Regions from separate parts of the Homo sapiens genome. Here region 2 is linked to region 1. The links are contacts of gene promoters, found by promoter capture Hi-C in blood cells and fetal thymus (Javierre and others, 2016). All regions are on one chromosome and are shown on one strand. The core of a region is centred on a gene start or on the middle of the fragment in contact, and the rest is flanking DNA. Distances in the headings are between cores, read along the strand shown. Region 1 holds the start of TGFBI (transforming growth factor beta induced). Region 2 has its middle 4.5 kb from the start of LECT2.

The links. Contacts are between HindIII fragments. The CHiCAGO score rates a contact against its expected background, and 5 or more counts as called.
Region 2: a fragment that was not itself captured here is called in contact with the fragment with the promoter of TGFBI in region 1 in 1 of 17 cell types (monocytes); the score reaches 7.1 in monocytes.

What each region holds. Positions count from the first base shown.
Region 1 is chr5:136,024,854-136,030,398 of GRCh38, reverse strand. It overlaps TGFBI (transforming growth factor beta induced), which reads right to left and starts at 1,411. Exons shown (of 17, transcript NM_000358.3): 1 at 1,210-1,411. The coding sequence starts at 1,343. LOC105379189 (a long non-coding RNA gene) reads left to right here and starts at 4,506. Exons shown (of 4, transcript XR_948809.3): 1 at 4,506-4,581; 2 at 5,457-5,536. The HindIII fragment of the contact is 4,637 bases long and covers 1-3,238 here.
Region 2 is chr5:135,956,645-135,962,327 of GRCh38, reverse strand. No RefSeq gene overlaps it. Among named protein-coding and RNA genes, the nearest start is that of LECT2, 4.5 kb to the right of the region's middle. The HindIII fragment of the contact is 1,184 bases long and covers 730-1,913 here.

The DNA of each region.
Region 1 (5,545 bases), core at 162-2,661:
GAGGAAACAAGAGCAACTATGCCCTACAAGGGGCAGCCTGTACCCGTACCCAGAGCACTCCTAGTGCAAGGAGCCAAGACTTTCAGGGCCTGTGAAGTCAACTCTATCACCCCCAACAATGAGTTTTGATTTGAGCACAGATCTGCCCAGTCTCTTGGAGGTTTGGGCATTGCTTGTGGGTGTGAACGCCAGACCCCGATGGTATTTAGGCTTCCTCTGAGGAGTCACTACAAGATTCTACTCATATATAGTTTTACCTAGTTATGAAAAAGAAGTTGGTGCAACCAGGTAGGCTGGAAGCTGCAGCAAAGCCTGGGTATTTGTGACGCAGGTATGGCCTGGTTTTTGAGGTAGAAATGTTGCCTGCCTCTGCCTGGGTCAGTATTAGGGCCACTATCAGACCAGACCTTCTGCTTGAGTTTGTCTCCTAAAGCCAACACATCTTCAGGGTCTCAAAGGAATTCCTGCAATGATAGTGTCCTACATTTACAAACCCAGCTATTACTTTAAGACAGACTCCAATCCTGGCTCCAGTGCACACTTCAGGACTGTGGGAAAGTGGAACCACTCAGGACTCAGTTTCCCCATTTGAACAGTGTGTGTGAGGGCCCAGTGCATTCTCCTGCTCTTCATCGGGCAGGACAAGAAGTGCCACATTGCCCTTGCTGTACCCAGAGAGCAGTGTCGGGTGCCAGCAGTGTCTGAGTGCAGGGCCTGGCCAGGAGCACAGGAGCCTGGGGCACCTTAGATGCTGCCACCGTGTGTGGCCCAGGTTCTTGTCTGGAGTCGCTGGCCGGGGGCCTGGCTGGGTTGGAATAGGTGTACTGCTGGGTGGGCTTTGCCCTTGGCACCCTCCCACGGTGATTATGGCCAAAGAGTTGCCATTTCCCCCTTTCTGCAGTGGCTGGGAGGAGAAGCTGAAAGCGCTGTCCGTCTCAGGCTCTTGGCCTGCGTCGAAAGTCTCTGGTCCACTTCCCCACTCCCTTCTACAAAGCGGCGGCCTCCCGCTTTCCCTCCATGGTCCTCCACCTCCCTCCCTCTCTCCTTCCACCGCGTGCAGGGCTGGTGTCCGAGCGCTCCATGCTGCAAGGTTTTTAGTTCGGGCTTTGTCCCCTGCGCCCCCAGCCCAGTTCAATGCCCCCAGCGGCTTGCGCTCCGAGCCCCGACTACCTGACCTTCCGCAGCCCCTGGCCAGGCGGCTCGGCTTACCCGTGCTGGCGGCCCCGGAGCCTGCTGTGCTGCAGCACCAGCTGGTAGGGCGACTTGGCGGGACCCGCCAGGGTCGCGGCGGGGCCCAGGGCCAGAGCCAGGGCGAGAGCCAGCAGCCGCACGAAGAGCGCCATGGAGCGGGACGACGCGCACCGAGCGAGCTAGCGACCGACGGGCAAGCGGGCGGCTCCAGGGAAGTGAGAGCGCCTCCGCCGCCCGGGCCAGGTTAAGTAAGCTGCGAGCGGGAGGGAGCGGACGCCAGGGGCGGGGAAGCTGGGCCGGCCCGTGCAAGGAGGGCGGGCCGCCTGGCGCCTCCCAACCCGTGCGCCCCTGGCTGCCCTGGGCACCCACCCGCTCCCGCACTGTGCCCGTGCTCAGTTTTCCCAGCCCTTGCCCTCACTGCCAGCCCTCCCTCCCTCTCTCCCTCGCCACAGTCTTCCTCAAACCAAGGGTATAGGTCCCTTAGGCCTCCTGTGGCTGCTTCCAAATGGGGACCTTGGGACTGAGGGACAGCTGTCTCGGGGGCTTCGGTCCTGCATGCTGGGGGCCCGAAGATTCCCTCACTGATCTTGAGGCTACAAAACACTGCAGGGAGGGGTGAGGGGAGGCAGTGCTGATTCCCAGAACACCATGGCCCATCAGACTTGTTTCTGCACCCCAGGAGCTGACCACCCTCCCCAGCTCCTCAATCTCTAATCCCTCCACCCCCACCCCACCTGTCATGCTCATTGAAAGACAGATGAGTAAATCGTGTGATCCACAGAAACGCCAAAAATGTGGGGCAGGTTTTGTTGGGCTCTAAGCTGCTTTTGGAGCCCGTGGGGAAGGGTGGGGTCCTCACCTTGGTACTAATTCATTCCCTTCTTCAGTAAACATCTCTGCAACAGTACCTGCCAGATAGATTCTGCAAAGGCAAGAGTCCTGCCCTGGAGGAGCTCAAGGCAGGTAAACAAATTGTCACATGGTAAAGAGGTGATACTTACCCAAGCATCTATTAATCACCTGTCAGTTACTTGGCACTGCTAGCCCTGGGGAGACACAGATGGATTAATAGAATGAGTGAGACCTAAGCCCTTTGTGAAAAAGCTCCAATTTGGGAAGATCCGTAGCCCAAGCCAATGATGTTCCATGAAGAGTAGCTGGGGCTTTGGGAGCTAAGAAGAGGCACCTGGCCCTGACAGGGTGATACCTGCTCTGAGGCCTGAAAGATGAAAATGAGTTAATCAGGTAAACTGAGGCATGCATTCACGAAACTCAAGTTATCTGGTTGGCTGAAGCACAGGGAGGTGGAGTCAAGGGTAGGGAAGAAGGGGAGGAAGGTAGCAGGGCCCAGACTCCAGCTAAGAGCCTAGCGGGTGATGGGTGGAGGCAAGTGACATGGCCAGTGTCATGAGAGGCTTAAGGAGGCAAGAAGAACAGGTAACCAGGAAGGGACCATGGGAGAGCTTGAACTATGGTGGTAGAGGCAGAGATGGGGAAGGCTGGGCAAATGTGAGGGGTGTAGGAGGTAATAGTCTCAATAGAATTTGGAGTCTGTATACAGGGAGAAGGGGAGAAAGGAGAGTCAAGGATATTGTAGGGTGTTTGTGGTCTGGACATTGCAGCAGGTGATGGTGCCATGTTCAGAATGAGGCACATGCAGAGTGCAGGCTTGCCAGGTAGATGAGTGGTTTGGGACACCCTGAGTCTGAGGTGCTTATGACTCATCCTGGTGAAGCATCCCATGAGGATAAAGCTGGATATGAGGATCGGGGGCTTGAGTGAGGGACGCGGGATGAAGATTCACACCTGGGAGTCATCCTCCAGTGACAGAAGAGCCCAGGAAGTAGAGAATGTGGGGTTGTAGTCAAGGAGGGGTATCCTAGTAGGAGGGCGCTGCTCAAAGTGAGGAATGCTGCCAACAAGACAGATCTGAATGGCTTTCACTGTGTCAGAAGCAGAGAGGCCACTGGGGACTTGGCTGTGGAGAGCAGATGGCCAAAGCCCGAATATGGTGGTTTGATGGAGAGATGAGTAGCATGTAGAAGCTTGTCTGAGAAGGGAAGGGGCGAGTTAGGATGGCAGCCAGGGAAAGAAAAAGACAAGCGGGGCTTGGAGAGGTTAGAACTCTGGTAGAAAGAAGGTGGGAAGGAGAAGGGAGAGAGTGTGGGCACTGGAGGAGGGCCTACTGAGAGCATAAAGCAACTGAGGGCCTGCATGGGGAGTGATCAAGCTAGTGGAGAGGAGGGAACAGGTGTATGGGAGATTTTAGTGGTAGCATTGATTAGACTTGGAAACCCCTTGGGCATGCAGGGTTAGGGAGGGGGAGTAGAGCTAACCTCGAGGCTCATAGCTGGCAGGAAGGGATGCCTGTGCTGGGCACGCTGGTGAAGGTGCACATTTGGGTGTGTGAGGAGAGTGCTCCATTTGTGTTCACATTATGTGTGAACAAGCCACCTGCATTTCCAGGAGGGATGGACAGGAGGGAGCTATATTCAAAGGTCTTGAGCTCAGGATAGGTATGAGGATTGGAGATGCAGATTTGAGTCACCACTACGAGCAGGTGGTAGCTAAAGTCATGCACTGGATGAGCTTCCTTGGGAGCAGGTGTTGGAAGAGAGGAGGAGGAGGAAGGAGAAGAAAAGGAGAAGATGGGTTCAAATACCAGTCTTTCTACTTCCTAGCTGTGTGGTCTTGGGCAAGTTATTCAACCTCATAGAGAGGATAATAAAACCTACCTCACAGGACTCTAAACTAGATTACATGATACAATTCAAGTAAAATGGCCAATAAATATGCATTGCTATTATTATTATTACCTCTCCCCAGTCATTGTTCTATATAGTAGGGTTCAATGAAACAATATGATAGTTTTGAGCAACTACAGAAATAATTATCTGAAAATGCTCATTTCATTTATTGAAAGCAAAACATTTCTCGGTTTCAGCATGACTGCTTGGCATAGGATAATGGGAAGAACCCAAAGGGATTCAAGCTCAGGCTGACTCCCAGAACAAGTTTCCCCTGAGACCAGTAGAATTTGGCTGCATTGCAGTTTCTAGGAAAAATGCTCCTTGTATGTAAGAGGCCAGGAGCCCTGCCATCTGGTTCCAGCTCTCTCTCTAGCAAGATTTAGGGCAAGTCAAGCAAGTTCACTGGACCTCACTTCTCCAGTCTGCAAAACTAACATTCGATGACTTGAGTTTTTCCATGAGCTCAGTAAAGAGATTGCAGTAATACTTTATTTATGGTTTAGATATTTTTTTAAAATCCCACATCCATGCCCCACCACCCATCCCCTCTTTCAAACATGAAAAGCAGAATGCTGTGAGTATAACCATTCTCCCACCTGAGGTTGCTGCTTCTTTGGAGACAAGAGTGATGCTGCTGGAGGTAAGAGCAGGGACCCTCCATCCCCAGATGACCCAGAGCCAACCAGGCAAACACAGAGCACCAGAAACCCTGTCATTTGAGAAAGAATTTTTTCCTTCCAGATTAAACAATCTAAACAGGAGAAAGTGAGGCTTGCTTGGAAGAATCTTTACTAGACTTTTTCAAGCACTTTTTAAAAAATGACTGCTTTTACATTTTGTGGCACATGAAAGGTCACCAAAAACATTCAGGTTTTGAAAATAATACTGTAGGGTATGACAACAAGCTTTATGCATCATGATAAATTAGTAGTTCCAACAAGTTCTTCACAAAGGAACCTAGGAAAGAAACTGGTTCTGGGCCTGTTGGTGGGAGAGCTGGCATCTGCAGCCCAGCTGACACCAGGCCTGCCTTTTCCTTACTCCCTAAAGTTCCTGGTGATGCTTGGGCATACATGGAGACAGAAGATACAGTCAAAATCATTTTCAGAGGCCACCATATAGCTAAATAAAGAGCTCTTAAAATTCAGCTCCCCAAGACTTGCTAGGGAGAAAAAAAGGTGAGTTTTGGCAAGAGATATCCAAATGAAAAGATGTGAATCAAATTTTGGGGAAAATTGCCATCCCTTGTGTAACACACAGAACTTAGAATGGTACTTCATATACAGTAATTGTTTTTTCCATGTTACAAATAAAGGTAAGAAACATCTCAGTTTACTAACATTAAGGTGTGATTGTAGTACCATTTAGGGGATTTTGGATTGATTTCTCAAGGATTTTCCACAGTCTTGCCACTCAAAATGTGATCTGCAAAACAGCATCATCAGCACAACCCCAGAGTTCATTAGAAATGTGGAAAATTTAAAAATTTTTTATTTATTTATTTATTTTTTCTAGCTCTCATGAAGAAACGTGGAATCTTATAACCTCCCAACCTCCCAAGACCCACTGAATCTGCATTTTCACCAGATCCCAAGGTGATTTGT
Region 2 (5,683 bases), core at 72-2,571, 68 kb after region 1:
TGTTTTATTTTTATTTTTAATTAATTATTATTTTTATTTTTATTTTTTGAGACAGAGTCTTGCTCTGTTACCAGCCTGGAGTGTAGTGGCATGCTCTCAGCTCACTGCAACCTCCACCTGTGGGGTTCAAACAATTCTCCTGCCTTAGCCTCCCAAGTAGCTGGGACTACAGGCATGCGCCACCATGCCCAGCTAATTTTTGCATTTTTAGTAGAGACAGGGTTTCACCATGTTGGCCAGGATGGTCTCAATCTCTTGACCTTGTGATTCACCTGCCTTGGCCTCCCAAAGTGCTTGGATTACAGACGTGAGCCACTGCACCCAGCCTTAGTGTTTTGTATGTGCTTGGCCTAATGTAATTATTTTAGGAATACTACTTCATTTAATTCTTACAAGAATCCTATGAAGGTTGATATCATCATCTTCATTTTAGAGGTAGTAAAATGAAACTGATGTATTGATTGTCAAGCTTCAAATTCTGAAATATGAGAAAGGCTGTGTATGAATGATGAGTCATTCATTGAACCATATAACAAAATATGTAAAAGTATGAATTCTAGAGTCTAGTAGAGTTTGAGACTTGGCTTTGGCACATCCAGCTGTGGAACACTGAACATGTCACTTCAGTTCTCTGAGCCTCAAGCTTCCTCAGCTTTATTGCTCAGCTTTTTGCGAGGATTAAATTATACAGGGAATGCACTTGTTACAATACACTCTGTACAGTAAGCTTGCCTCCACTGACTTCTGCAAAAAATCTTTAAACAATTTTTATTGCATAATATTTTTTATTATTTAAAAAATGATTTACATATATTGAGCTAGTCTTGTATCCCAGGAATGAAGCCAACTTGATTGTGGTAGATAAGCTGTTTGATGTGCTGCTGGATTCAGCTTGCCAGTATTTTATTGAGAATTTTTGTTCTCAATAAAATTTTTGTTCTTTCTGATGAATCAATGTTCATCAGAGATATTGGCCTGACTTTTTTTGTTGTTGTATCTCTGATAACTTTTGGTATCAGGATGATGCTGGCCTCATAGAATGAGTTAGGCAAGAGTCCCTCCTTTTCAATTGTTTGGAATAATTTCAGAAGAAATGGTACCAGCTCCTCTTTGTGCCTCTTGTAGAATTCAGCTGTAAGTCCATCTGATCCTGGGCTTTTTTGGTTGGTAGGTTATTACTGCCTCAATTTCACAAATTGTTCTGATCTATTCAGGAACTCAACTTCTTCCTGGTTCAGTCTTGGGAGGGTGTATGTGTCTGGGAATTTATCCATTTCTCGTAGATTTTCTAGTTTATTGCTATAGAGCTGTTTATAGTATTCTCTGATGGTTGTTTGTATTTCTGTGGGGTCAGTAGTGATATCCGTTTATTATTTTTAATTGTGTCCATTTGATTCTTCTCTCTTTTCTTCTTTATTAGTCTAGCTAATAATTTATCTATTTTATTATTTTAAAAAAAACAGCTCCTGGATTCACTGATTTTTTGAAGACTTTTTCATGTCTCTATCTCCTTCAGTTCCACTCTGATCTTGTTTTTTATTGTAATTTTTTTGTCACTTAAAATTGTGTGTGAATGTTGAAATACTGGAAGATAAAAATCTGGAAAATATAAAATGTATAAAACATATATGTACAGTTTAAAGGGTAATAACCAGATGAACACCTGTGCCCAGCAACAGGTTTATAGGAGCATTATCAGCCCCCATGAAGCCCAGGTGCCTGCCCCTGATCACATCCCCTTCCTCTCTCCTGAAGGTAACCAGCATACAAATTGTGTCAACTCTTCTCTTGCTTTTCTTTATATTAATAGTTTTACCATCTATGTATGTGTTCCTAAACAATATATGCTTTAGATTTGCATGTATCTGAATGTTTTAGAAACAGCTTCATCTTGAGATATAATTTATAAAGCTTACTGTTTCAAGCATGCATTTGAACTTTTAATAAGCATATACTGCATATTGTTCTGTGATTTCCTCTTGTGTGTGTGTGTGTGTGTGAGATGGAGTCTTGCTCTGTCACCCAGGCTGGAGTGCAGTGGCGCAATCTCGGCTCACTGCAACCTCCGCCTCCTGGGTTCAAGCGATTCTCCTGCCTCAGCCTCTCTAGTAGCTGGGACTATAGGCGTGCACCAGCATGCCCAGCTAATTTTTGTATTTTTAGTAGAGACAGGGTTTCACCATGTTAGCCAGGTTGGTCTCGATCTCTTGACCTTGTGATCCGCCCACCTCGGCCTCTCAAAGTGCTGGGATTACAGGCGTGAGCCACCACGCCCAGCCGATTTCCTTTCTTCTAATCACCATTATGTTTTTGAGAGTCATCTAAGTTGATGTATTTGGTTGTATTTTATTCATTCCCATTCTTGTAGGGTATTTCATTAAACAAAAATACCAGAATTTGTTCCCATTCTACTGTTGATGCACATATAGGTTGTTTCCTGTTTTACACTACTACAAATGATACTACTATGAACATTTTGAACGTGTACACATGCAAGAGTATAACTAAGAGTGAAGCTGTTCTGTCGCAGGGTATGGACAGGATCAACTATGTTTCTTAGGAGGACGAGACCATCACTCAACCCACTATCTGAAATAAAAAGACAAAGCTGAATGAGTGACAATAGTTAGGAAGAGCTGTGTCGGTCAGGCACAATCTTTCCAAGCAGAGCAGCCTGTTCATCTTATTTATGTATGGATTTGGGAAGCTGGGAGTTCGGGGGTTTGTGAACTTTCGGAATGTTAGAGGTTTGACGGATTAAAAGACATGGTGCTCAGGTAAGACTGTTGTTGATTGGCTGGGAATCACTTACTAGAGTGAGTCTGTCCCTAATTGGCTGAAAGTCAGAAGCAAGGGGCTGTTATTGATTGGTTGTTTTGAAGAGCATGTTTACCAGACGTGGGTTGTCATTGACTGATTAAAGGGTTTAAAATATAGGTGGCTAAATATTACCAAGGTTACAGAAAAATCAGTTTTTCCTTGCTGTATGGGAACTTTTTTATGTTCAAAAGATATTGCCAACAAATTAATTGTCCAACAAATGTCTTTATTTAACTTGTTGCTATGGGAAAACTTTCAAATATAAACAAACTGGAGAGGATAGTATAGTAAACTTCTGCGTACTCATTACCCAGCTTCAGTAATTAGCAGTTCATAGCCAATTGTGTTTAATCTATATGCTACCTACTCTCCTAACTCCTGGATTATTTTGAAGCAAATCTGAAACATCCTATGATTTCATACCCATAAATGTTTCAGTATGTATTTCTAAAAGATAGGAACTTTTTACAAACACCTAATGTATTATGCTTAAAATTACACAGAATAATTTCTAATATCATCAAGTAGTGTTAAAATTGTCCCTATTCTCTGTTTCTCTCTGTCTATCATTTCCTCATTTGATTCAGACTCCAAGTAAAGTCCATACACGGCATTTTGTTGATAAATCTTGTAAATCTCTTCTAATCCACAGATTGCCCCTCTCTCTATTTTCCTTTCCTCAGAATTTATTTGTTGAAGAAACCAGGTTCTTTATCTGGTAGAACTTCCTACAGCCTGCATTTGTCTGACTGCATTCTTGTGGTACATTTAACATGCATCCCTGTGCTGCATAGTTCCTGTAAACTGAAAGTTAGAGCTAATGGCCTTATAAGACTTTAGCCTGATTTTTTGACAAGAATACTTTATAGGTTGTGTTGTGCATTTCCAACAGGAGGTATAAAATGTCTGATATACTCTCTCCTTCTCTCTCTTCTTAACAATACGATTGATTAGGTATCATCAGCCTGATCCATCCATTACAAAGTTTCTCATCAGCTTTTCAGCATTGATGACATTGCTCAGATCCTATCCCATTACGGGTTTCAAAAGAGTCTCCTACCATCTCTTCTGCAGTTTAGAGGACGGCACTGGCTTCAGAGGGGAAGATACATTGGAAACAGTTAATGCAGAAGGCAGGGAAAATAGGAGGAAAGCAGGCCACAGGTAGGAAAACAATAGCATTGCTGGAGCAAAGGTTTTGTGCATTTAAAAATGTGAGGGGTATTGCAAAATTGTACTCTAAAGAGGTTAAACCAACTTACACTTTTCAATAAATGTTTCTACATACCTTTGTCAATTTGATGGGTGAAAAACTACACCTCATTCTGGTTTACAATTGTTAATTTTAAGTGAAGTGGATCATATTTTCAAATACATATTGGTAATCTGTATTTTTTCTTTTAGGAAAGTCTGCTGCTATCTTTTGCCCATTTTTCTTTTTTTTTTCTTTTGAGACGGAGTCTTGCTCTTGTTGCCCAGGCTGGAATGCAATGGCACAATCTCGGCTCACTGCAAACTCCGCCTCCCAGGTTCAAGCGATTCTCCTGCCTCAGCCTCCCAAGAAGCTGAGATTACAGGTGTCTGTCACCACATCTGGCTAATTTTTGTATTTCTAGTAGAGATGGGGTTTCGCCATGTTGGCCAGGCTGGTCTCGAACTCCTGACCTCGTGATCCGCCTGCCTCGGCCTCCCAAAGTGCTGGGATTACAGGTGTGAGCCACCGCGCCTGGCCTTTGCCCATTTTTCTATCAATTTGTTTACACCTTTTATTTTTTTAAAGAATTCTTTATATATTAGGGAGATGAGTTCCTTATCTGTCATATTATATGGGTTATAGATATTTTTTTCAGATTATTATCTTTTGACTCTGATCAGGATACTGTTGGCTTTGTAGAAAGTTTTTTTTATTATTGTTATAACGCATTTATCAAATATTTCCTTCAGCACTTCTGGGTTTTTTAACATTCTTTGAAAAGTCCAACCCATACCAAGACCATTAAAAATCATTCATAATTTCTCCTAGTATTTCTATGGTTTCAGTTCATTTCTTTTCTTTCTTTCCTCCTCCTCCCTCTTTCTCTCCTTTTGCATACAAATGTTTGGTTCACTTTGATATGGATTGAACTTTTATTTATTTATTTATTTTGAGACAGGGTCTCACTATCTTACCCAGGGTGGAGTGCAGTGGCATGATCGTAGCTCACTGTAACTTCAAACTCCTGGATTCAAATATTCCTTCTGCCTCAGCCTCCCAAGTAGCTAGGACTGCGTACACACACACCATGCCTGACTAAGTTTTAAAAATGTTTTGTAGGAATGGGGTTTTGCTATGTTGCCTAGGCTCGTCTCGATCTCCTGGCCTCAAGTGATCCTCCCGCACAGGCCTCACAAAGTGCTAGGATTACATGCATGAGCCACCACGCCTAGACTGCACTTTTATTTCTTGCCAGTTGTTGTCTCAATACAGTTAATAGAATGACTTATATTTCCTCTAATCATTTAAAGTATGACTTCTATTGTATACTACATGCTGTATATATTTGTGCCTATTTCTGAATCATCTGTTTTGTTTCACTAACCTATTCTTTCAGTACATTGACTCAGATCCTTGATGTATTCAATGCGTTGGCATTCTATATTGTATACATTAGATGCCTCCTTGAAAGGTTGTGTGTGAAGCAAAAACAATTAGGTGCATAATCTCATTGGCATCGTTTAGTTATTGTTGTGTGACATACCACACCAAAACTCAGTGGCTTCCAATGACAGCCAGTTAAGCCCATACATTCATAGGGTATACTAAGCTGGATTTTGTAGGGGCAACTGTGCTCTGCATGGCATCCATTCCCTTCCCAGGGCAGCA